Regions from separate parts of the Homo sapiens genome. Here regions 1 and 3 are each linked to region 2. The links are contacts of gene promoters, found by promoter capture Hi-C in human tissues and cell types (Jung and others, 2019). All regions are on one chromosome and are shown on one strand. The core of a region is centred on a gene start or on the middle of the fragment in contact, and the rest is flanking DNA. Distances in the headings are between cores, read along the strand shown.

What was found. Contacts are between HindIII fragments. The study calls those that stand out against the background at their distance.
Region 1: a contact is called between a fragment that was not itself captured here and the fragment with the promoter of TMEM132B in region 2, in 2 of the 25 tissues and cell types used here (dorsolateral prefrontal cortex and mesenchymal stem cells).
Region 3: a contact is called between a fragment that was not itself captured here and the fragment with the promoter of TMEM132B in region 2, in 1 of the 25 tissues and cell types used here (spleen).

What each region holds. Positions count from the first base shown.
Region 1 is chr12:126,612,530-126,615,518 of GRCh38, reverse strand. No RefSeq gene overlaps it. Among named protein-coding and RNA genes, the nearest start is that of LINC02824, 76 kb to the left of the region's middle. The HindIII fragment of the contact is 3,086 bases long and covers 196-2,989 here.
Region 2 is chr12:125,184,490-125,187,736 of GRCh38, reverse strand. It overlaps TMEM132B (transmembrane protein 132B), which reads right to left and starts at 1,351. Exons shown (of 9, transcript NM_001366854.1): 1 at 871-1,351. The coding sequence starts at 937. RefSeq lists a silencer at 1,359-1,568 and an enhancer at 1,617-2,150. The HindIII fragment of the contact is 11,061 bases long and covers 1-3,247 here.
Region 3 is chr12:126,784,257-126,787,148 of GRCh38, reverse strand. No RefSeq gene overlaps it. Among named protein-coding and RNA genes, the nearest start is that of LINC00944, 13 kb to the right of the region's middle. The HindIII fragment of the contact is 4,921 bases long and covers 1-2,892 here.

The sequences.
Region 1 (2,989 bases), core at 489-2,988, 1.4 Mb before region 2:
GCATCACCCCTAGAGTTCTCAGTACATCAACACCAGCCTGAGGAGCCTGCCTAGTGCTTCTAAACACTGAAACTACAGTCCAAACATCAAGAAAAGATGGGCCCATCAAACCTGAGTCAAAAAAGCACTGCCATCTCCGAGGTCGTGGGCCATTATCCAAACGAAAAACCCCTCAAACTAAGGTTAAGAAAAGTTTAACTCTCTTTTATCTCTTCTATTCCCCTTTCTTCTTTCCTCATTCTATTACTAATCTTGCTATCAATTAAACTAAGTCAGACTCATCCCAAATCATTGCCTTTAATACTTGCCTTGTTATGCCTTGTGAAGAGAATGAACAATGGCAAAGGTATGTCTCTACTTTAGAAAAATACCTCTGCCCCTTCAGAGAAGCCACTGACCCCACGCCTTGCTCATCGCGGGGGTATCAAGGCACCCCAAGTTGGGAGATATGTTCTCAATGGGAAGATGTCATCCTGACTACCAGTGAACACGGCGGGACCTCCGCAGAAGGCTGTACTGACCTAAAATCTTACCTCTGCCTTACCAAAGGAGCCACCCCCTCTAATTGTCAACTTGACCATTGTAACCCAGTAACTATCTCTATTAACACCCTTACCTCCACCACCCCTGCACCCCTTTTAGAATGCTTTTATGTCTTAGGAGCAGAGGCCAATCAATAGGACCCTATAGGCTTCTTTAAAATATGTTTTACTGACCCTCCTTCTCCTTCTAAACCTTCTACCCTGCACAACAACAATGCCAAGGTAAATATTGTAAAAGTGAAGAATCTAAGACAAACTCTGGCAATTGAAACAGGATATCAAGATATAAATGCCTGGTTGGAATGGATGCAATATTCCATCCGCACTTGGAACAAAAACAATTGTTAAGCTTGTGTGCATGGCAGACCAGAGGCCCAGATTGTCCCCTTTCCACTAGGATGGTCCTTCAATCGACCAGGCATGGGCTGTATGGCAGCTCTTTTCCAGGATTCCACAACCTGGGGCAACAAATCATGCCAAGCTCTCTCTCTGCTATATCCCGAAGTCCAACACCCTGTGGGTCAGCCCCTGAGGGCCATTCAGCTTCCATCTCCCAAAGTCAATTTCACCTCATATCTCTCACGATGTGGGGGGAACTTGGCATTCCTTGGAAGCTTAATGGGATGCAGTGAGCTTAGGCCCTTCCAAGAGCTTACCCATCAGTCTGCCCTTAGTCATCCTCAAGCGGATGTATGGTGGTATTTCAGTGGACCCTTACTGGACACTCTGCCACGTAACAGGAGCGGCACTTGTGCTCTTGTCCAGTTGGCTATCCCTTTCACCCTGGCATTTCATCAACCAGAAAAAGAAAAACCACAACACCGAAAAATAAGAGAAGCCCCTTATGGGTCTTTTGACTTGCAAGTTTACATAGATGCCATTGGAGTCTCATGAGGAGTGCCTGACAGGTTCAAAGTCCAAGACCAAATAGCTGCAGGATTTGAATCCATATTTCCACAGGTAACTATGAATAAAAATGTAGCTTGGATAAATTACATCTATTATAATCAGCAGTGGTATATTAATTACACCAGGGGTGCTATCAAAGGAATAGCCAACCAATTAAGACCCACTAGCCAAATGGCTTGGGAAAACAGGATAACTCTAGAGCCAAAAAAGGTGAGGTTTGTGCTATGATTAAAACCCAATGTTGTACCTTCATCCCAAACAACACTGCCCCCAAAGGGAGCATAACAAAGGCCTTACAAGGACTTACTGCTTTATCCAATGAATTAGCTAAAAATTCTGGAGTAAATGACCCTATTTCAGGATGGCTGGGAATGTGGTTCAGTAAATGGGAAGGAATCATAGCCTCAGTTCTTATTTCTTTTGCAATTGCAATAGGTGGACTCATTCTTGTTGGCTGCTGTGTTATACCATGCATCCATGGGCTAATACAAAGGATTGTACAACCAGCACTTAGTTCTCCTCCAGCTTATTCAAGTAAGCTTTTCTTTTTGGAAGATCAAGTTGAATGGCAAAGCCAAGACATGTTTAAAAAGTTTGAAGAGAAAGAATTGTAAGAAAATTAAAAGGGAGGAATTGTAAGATACAATGAATTTCTCTGAGTTTCTCTTCAAAGATTTAGCCTGCTAACATCCTTGTTCTTTGTTCTCAAACTCATTTCCTGTTCCCCCTTGCCCCTAGTTACTGTAAAACAGCCTACCCCCTTCCCAGGCGCTCTAATCAATAACTCACATCTGTTCCCTTGGTTTCCTGCACCCATTGTTCCCCCAAAACTGCATGTCTCACATGCTTTACCACTGTACCTCACATCCCATTTCCCTTCCTTATTTAGAAAAATATTTGCAAGTAGCCAATCGGGTCAGCTCAGATTGTGCAGTCCAACCCCAGCCCATTGGGGAGTGACACAAAGGTAGGGACTACCGTCAGAGATAAAAGCTTGCTGCTCTCCTTTGTTCCCTGTGCTCTTGTGATCTTGACTGACGTGAGTGGCACACTTCTGCAGAAGTAAATTGCCTTGCTGAGAAAACTTTTGCCTGAGTGTTGTTTTCACTTTGTGGCACCGAGCATTTATTCCTAGAACATTTTTATATCCAACCATTTGTACCTAATTTTTATTTGTAAATTTTGTATTATATTTCTTAAAGGGGGTTTCTAAAATTGTATAATCTTCAGGCCACGTAAAACCTGGAGGCTCTGGCTCTGTCTATACATTAGAATAATCAGGGGAGCCATCACAAAGTGGAGACACAGACCCAATACAGCCCTTAGATAGACTGATTCAATTGGTCTGGCATGAGGTACAGGCATCAAGAGAGACAGAGATGATAGATAGATAGATAGATAGATAGATAGATAGATAGATAGATAGATAGATAGATAGACAGATAGATAGATAGATAGACAGACAGATAGATAGATAGATATAGATAATAGAATGATACATAGAATAATAGAGATTCAATAGATAGAAAGGATATATG
Region 2 (3,247 bases), core at 102-2,601:
GAACCAACATGTAGCCACACCAAGGTGGGTAGAAAGCTTTCCAAACTCCAGCGAAGACAGACAATACCTGACTATTTTGCTTTTCCCACTCACTAGGATTGGGCGACAGCTGAGCTGGTTCAGCAGGGAGTCCAGCTCCCCGGTGCCCAGGCAATGGCTCTGGACAGCACCGCGTTCCAGGCTCCCCGGCGCGTCCTGGACTGCTTGGCCGCGGCTACCCTCTCCCGCCCGCCTTGGGGTCAGGGCGCTGGAGTAGACCGCGTTTGCAGGAGGCGCGCAGCGGGCTGCTCTTTGGCCAAGAGGAGGCCATTTGGCGAGGGTGGGTAGCTTGGGGAGGGCAGTGTGAAAGCAGGGGAGGGCCGCGGGGCGTGGGGAGGGGCTGCGGACAAGCCAGACAGCGCCGGCCGAGACATCTCCGGGGCCCGCAGGTGTCCCGGGAACGCACCACTGTGCGACCGCGGGCAGCAAGACACTGGAGAAGGGCTGCGTCGACGCCCCCGCCCAGCAAAACCCCTGGAGGAACTGGGACCTGGGGGGGATTTGGCCCAAGGCAGGGCGGGGAGGGGGCTCGATTCCTGCAGTCGCGTCCCCACCCGCCTCGAGAGGCTGAGTGCCCCGGTCTGTGGCCCCCGTGCGTCCCGAAAGGATCCGCAAGGAAGCTAAGGGTTTGGGGGAGAAGGCAGGCGGGCTCTCCCCAGGCGCTAGGCAAAGGGGAACGCGCCGGGGGCTCCTGGGTTCCCAGGGTCTCCCCAGGTCTGTCCAAGTCCGGGAGATGCGCGCTGCCAGGGACTTGAGAAGGAGGTAGCCGCCCGTTCACCCAACTTTGTGCGCCTCGGCCGGGGTCGGGGATGGGGTCCGGGGACGCGTTACCTGGGCACTGGAGCGCAGTCAGCGCCAGCAGGAGCCCGAGCGGCGGCGCCCGGCCCGGGGGCGGCATGGTCCTCGGCGCGCGGTGGGTGCGGCGCGGGGCTGCTCCTCTCGCGCGCCCGGCCCGGCCCGCGGCTCCCGGAGCAGCCCCCGGCGGCTACGCCCGGGCGCCGGGCATGGCTCGCTCCCAGCGCGCCGCTCCTCCCCAGACGCATGCGCCGGCGCTGGCGGCGCTTCCTCGGCTGCGCCTCTGCGCGCTCTCCTGGGCTCGGCCGTGCGTGGCTGGGGAGCTGGGGCGGCCGAGGCTCAGCGCCCCGCGCCCTGGCCGGCTGCCCCGCAGTTGGCCCGAGTTGCGCGGCCCCCGCCGCCGCCGCCGCCGCGGCTCCTGCGCCCCAGCGCCCGTCCCATCCCGGTCGCGCCGCCGCCGCCGCCGCCGCCTCTGCCATCGCCATCTGCCGGCCGCCCCTCGAGCCAGCGAGAGAGTGAGCGAGCGAGCGAGCGCCGGGGGGAGGAGGAGGAGGAGGAGGAGTAGGAGGAGGAGGAGGAGGAGAGGAGCGGAGGGCGGGGCCGCGGCCGGGGGAGGGGCCGCCCGGGAGCCGGGGCACAGGCGGCAGCCCGGCCAGTAGGCGGCGGGACGCGCCACTGCTCGGCGGTTCGGGGGAGGGCGCCCGGCCGGGAGGCTCCGGGAGCCCGCCGGGGGTCGCGGGCGCTCGCGGGTACAGGGGCTGCGGGAGGGGTGCGCAATGCAGAGAGGGGATGCCCAGCTAGATCCGGCGTCTTGGGGCGCAGCGGTAGGAGTTGCCAAGGTCGAGGGGTGAGGAGGCCAGCGGAGGGTCACCGGGATGGGGCAGCGACCTCTGGAGAGGTGGTGTCTGCCGGGGCCAGAGACTGCAAGACTGAGCGCGGACAGGAGGTCCCGGGTTAAATGTGGCACAGCTAGGGAGTGCCTGTGGGAGAGGGGAGAGGAGAGAGGGGAGGGCCTCCGGGAGGCCGAGGCTGTGTGCAGAGCCTCTGCACGGCACCGGGATGGGGGCTAGGGGTGCGCAGGCTGGGTGCGGTGACCTGAAACACAGCGAAGGCGGCCTGGGGATGGCCACCCGGGTGAGGCAGGGTCCCTTATTTACCCAGGCTAGAGGATGCGCCTTCCCATTTCGCGCAGGCCCTAGGAGCACGCGGAGGCAGCCAGGAGTTCTCCTGGGAAGGGCAGATTCCCTGGCGGTCCCGGGAATGAGTTCCCAGCGCAGGGTCAGGCAGTGACGGAGCGGAGGTGTTGCGCAGGGCCGGGTACTAGGTGGTCGAATTCTTCCATCCAGGGGCAGGGACGCAGCCAGAGTGCGGAGGGAGGTCACAGGTCACACGGAGCCCCAGTACCTATTATCCCAGAAACCACTGATCCTCCTGGGCGCCCCACCCCCAACCAGGGCAAAGCCACGGGGGGCTAAGCCGAATGAATGAGTCATGCTGGGAGCATGTGGGGGAGCCTCCAGCAGCGCTCAGATGCCTTCAAGCTTCCCCACCACGCTGGGAGGACAGGGGATATGGGGGGTTGCCCACCTGGGAGGGTGGCTTGGAGTCCTGGCTCCGCCCCAGCCCCCACCACACCAGCCACTTGCTCTGCCATCTCAGTTTTCCATGAAAAAGTGGGTCAAACTCTTTGAAAATGGTCAATAAGGCAGCGTGGGGTGATGAAAAGACAGATTTGGGGAAGGCTCTGGAGTCATGGAGTCTTGGCTGAGAATCCCAGCTCTGCCGCTCCTTAGCTGTGCAAGCTGGGGCGAGTCCCTTATTCCTCCCTGAGCCTCAGTTTTCTCATCTGAGAGATGGAAGGCATTGCACATCACCTGGTGTCCCCAATAACACATACAAAGCCCCTGACCTAGGAAGTCGGAACTCATTTAAAGGAGTCAGTGTCAACATTATCATTCTCATCATCATGGCCATTATTATGATAGATCTGATTTTCCTCTGCGGGCCCAGAGCTCACATCAGAAGGACAATCCTCCCCACTCCCGGCTGCCAAGAGGGGATGGGGGACAGGGCACCTGCTTGATTAGTACAGACAAGCTCATTAGCAGAGGCAGCACTCAGTTCTTCCTAGATAAAAGAAGGAAGAAAGCCAGGGGCAGGTGGTGAGTCTCCAGCCCAGGTTAATTAGGAGACGTAAAGGGATTTTCCCGTGGCTGTTAATCGGCTTCCTTTACAAGGGGCCCATGCCCAGGCCAAGCCCCCTTTGGGCTCCCTGGCAAGGCCTGCAATGTGTGGAGAGCCATACAACAGGCTGGACGACGGGATTGGGGGTCTCCTCGGGCTTAGGGTGGCCTTGCGAGGGGCCCATCTGTCCCCTTTCTGTGACCCTTTCCCCAGATAAGAGGATGATCCT
Region 3 (2,892 bases), core at 377-2,876, 1.6 Mb before region 2:
CCTCTGTGAATTAGATCATGGGATAGCATTGCAAAAACATATCATGACTATCACAGGAGGGTTGAGTGTTTGTGACAGAGGTCTCTTCCACAAGGAGTTTCTCCTGGGTCAAGTCCCCAGATACTCAACGCTAACTGAATAATAGCTCCCTCTAACTCTGTCCCCCATATACTGGACATTCTCCTGGCAATTTTACCTGTGTAAACAGAGGACAAAACTGCATTTGTGGCCAAGGGACCAATATACAACACCTGCTAAAGTCCAAACGATGTGCTGGACCACAAGGAGAGCCCCTACTCTGGTTGAGGGTACAAAATGATATGAGTTAGAAATTAATAGGAAAGCTTGGGAAGGGGATGGACTACAGAGAATTCCAGGTGCCCTGTGCATTCCAGGCCCCAGGGTGGAGGGAAAGGGAAGTGTGTCTTCTCTCTCCTCAGCTCAGGAAAAAAGAATTTCAGGAGGACTACCTGGAAACCCCAATATGTGTTCCCTGCAGTGGGAGACACACTGAACCAGGGCCTGACTCACTCTGGGGGGATCTGACGGGTGAGGAGTTCAGCTCCTCTGAGAGCTGAGAGATGATAGTTGCTGCTGCACATGGAGAGGCTAGAACATCAAACAATAAGTCAGTGGAGCCTGGCTGATGTCACGTGAAAAAATTCCCAGAAAGGTGACCTCAAACAGAGACGATATTGGAAGTAGACTTTGGGGTGCCCAGCAGCTAAACAGGGAAGACGATGTGGTCACACAGTTTTGGGGCCACATGAGTGGAAGATCATCAGTCATGGAAGGGGAATTGAGGTTTGCCAAGGAACCCATGAAAGCATCCCTTAAAAAATAATAAAAAAAAAAATGCCAGGCTCGGTGGCTCACGCCTGTAATCCCAGCACTTTGGGAGGCTGAGGCAGGCAGATCACTGAGGTCAGGAGTTTGAGACCAGCCTGGCCAACATAGTGAAACCCCATCTCTTCTAAAAATACAAAAATCAGCTGGACGTAGTGGCAGGTGCCTGTAATTCCAGCCACTCAGGAAGCTGAGACAGGAGAATCGCTTGAACCTGGGAGGCGGAGGTTTCAGTGAGCTGAGATCGCACCACTGCAATCTAGCCTGGGCAACAAAGAGTGAAACTCTGTCTAAATAAATAAATAAATAAATAAAATAAAATAAAATAAAATAAAATAAAATAAAATAAAATAAAAATAAAAAAGACAGTACCCCACCCAGTGCCTCCCAGGCCAGGGAGCACACAGATGCCAGCTGACACCTGTGTTTGTGACCTCATCTTTCCTGTCCCTCCCAACATCTCTTCCCCTTCCTCTGTGTCTGCTCTGCAAACTCAGAACCCTCAGTCTCCAAGCCAGGAGAGAAAACTTTGAGGCCAATGATGAGGGGCAAAAAGAAAGACTTACCGTGCCTACTTCTACCAAAAGAGTTTCAGCTGGGAGAAGAGAAGAATGCTGTCCTTTGATTGTAGCTCAGAATTGGGATTAGTGAATCATTTTTAAATTGAGGCTGTGTTTTGTCATAAAAAGTCATGGATCTGCCTATTTTCATCCACAGGCAAGAAAATATTATCCCAATTGAGCAAATTAAAGGGAAAATAGAAATCTAAGTAAATCTCACTTTTGTGACTCCACCCTTGGGGCCCCCTCTGAAACCTCTAAGGAAAGGTCCTCCCTTGCCTTGTCCAGCTGCTGGGGCTCCAGGTGTTTCCCGGCTCCTAGAATCGTCACTCCCATCTCTGCCTCCATTGTCACTTGGACTTCTTTTTTCTGTGTGTCTTTTTTTTTTTTTTTTTGACAGAGTTTCGCTCTTGTTGCCCAGGCTGTAGTGCAATGGTGCAGTCTTGGCTCACCACAACCTCCGCCTCCCGGGTTCAAGAGATTCTCCTACCTCAGCCTCCCAAGTAGCTGGGATTACAGGCATGTGCTATCACGCCCAGCTAATTTTGTATTTTTAGTAGAGACATCGTTTCTCCATTTTGGTCAGGCTGGTCTAGAACTCCTGACCTCAGGTGATCCGCCCGCCTCAGCCTCCCAAAGTGCTGGGATTACAAGCATGAGCCACCACACCTGGCCTTTTCTGTATGTCTCTATATGTTCTCTCCTCTTCTTATTAGGGTGCCAGTCATTGAATTTAGGAATCACCCTAAAGCCAGGATAATTTCATCTCAAGACCCTGAACTAATTACATTAGCAAAGAAGCTATTTCCAAAGAAAGTCATATTTGTATTTCCAGATTGATTTGAATTGGGGGAAGTTACCATTAACATCCTATGAATGAGTAACACATACTCTTAATGATCCCATTAGGGTAATTTAGGTTTGTACCCCATTCTTTCGTTTCAGCTTTGGAAGACAAACCAAGACAGAGGAAATCTGAACATTTTCTAGGTGTGACGAAAGGAATTTAAGCGCGAGACATCCCATGGGTTTATCATTCCTGTGACTGACCAGCACCTACATTTTAGATGCTGGGGCCTGATCCATCACTCTGTTCTCAGATGTAGCTCCTAAGCCTGGTCGTGAATGAAGCTTCAGCCAAGCTCAAGGGAAGAAATCTGGTCATTTTCAGGCCCATGAAGCAGAAACACACGTGGTTATATGGACTCTGGGGCCCTTTCGCCCTCTGCTGGTGGGTGCCCAATGAAGCTATTTAACTGTATTTGCATTTGCAGCATTTCCAGTCCTCAAGAGGTCAGGAGATTCTCAGAGACAAGCTGATTGCCCAGAAGCAGTTTGCTAGGTTTAGGAAGTTGCTGCATCTGCCATATGCCACGATATATTCCGATGAACCCATCTTTACTAACTAGAGAATTCAGTCTTGATGTACAGGCAAATTGAGGACATAGAAAACAAGGGGTCTAGGGGAACCAGTTCAGTAACCCCT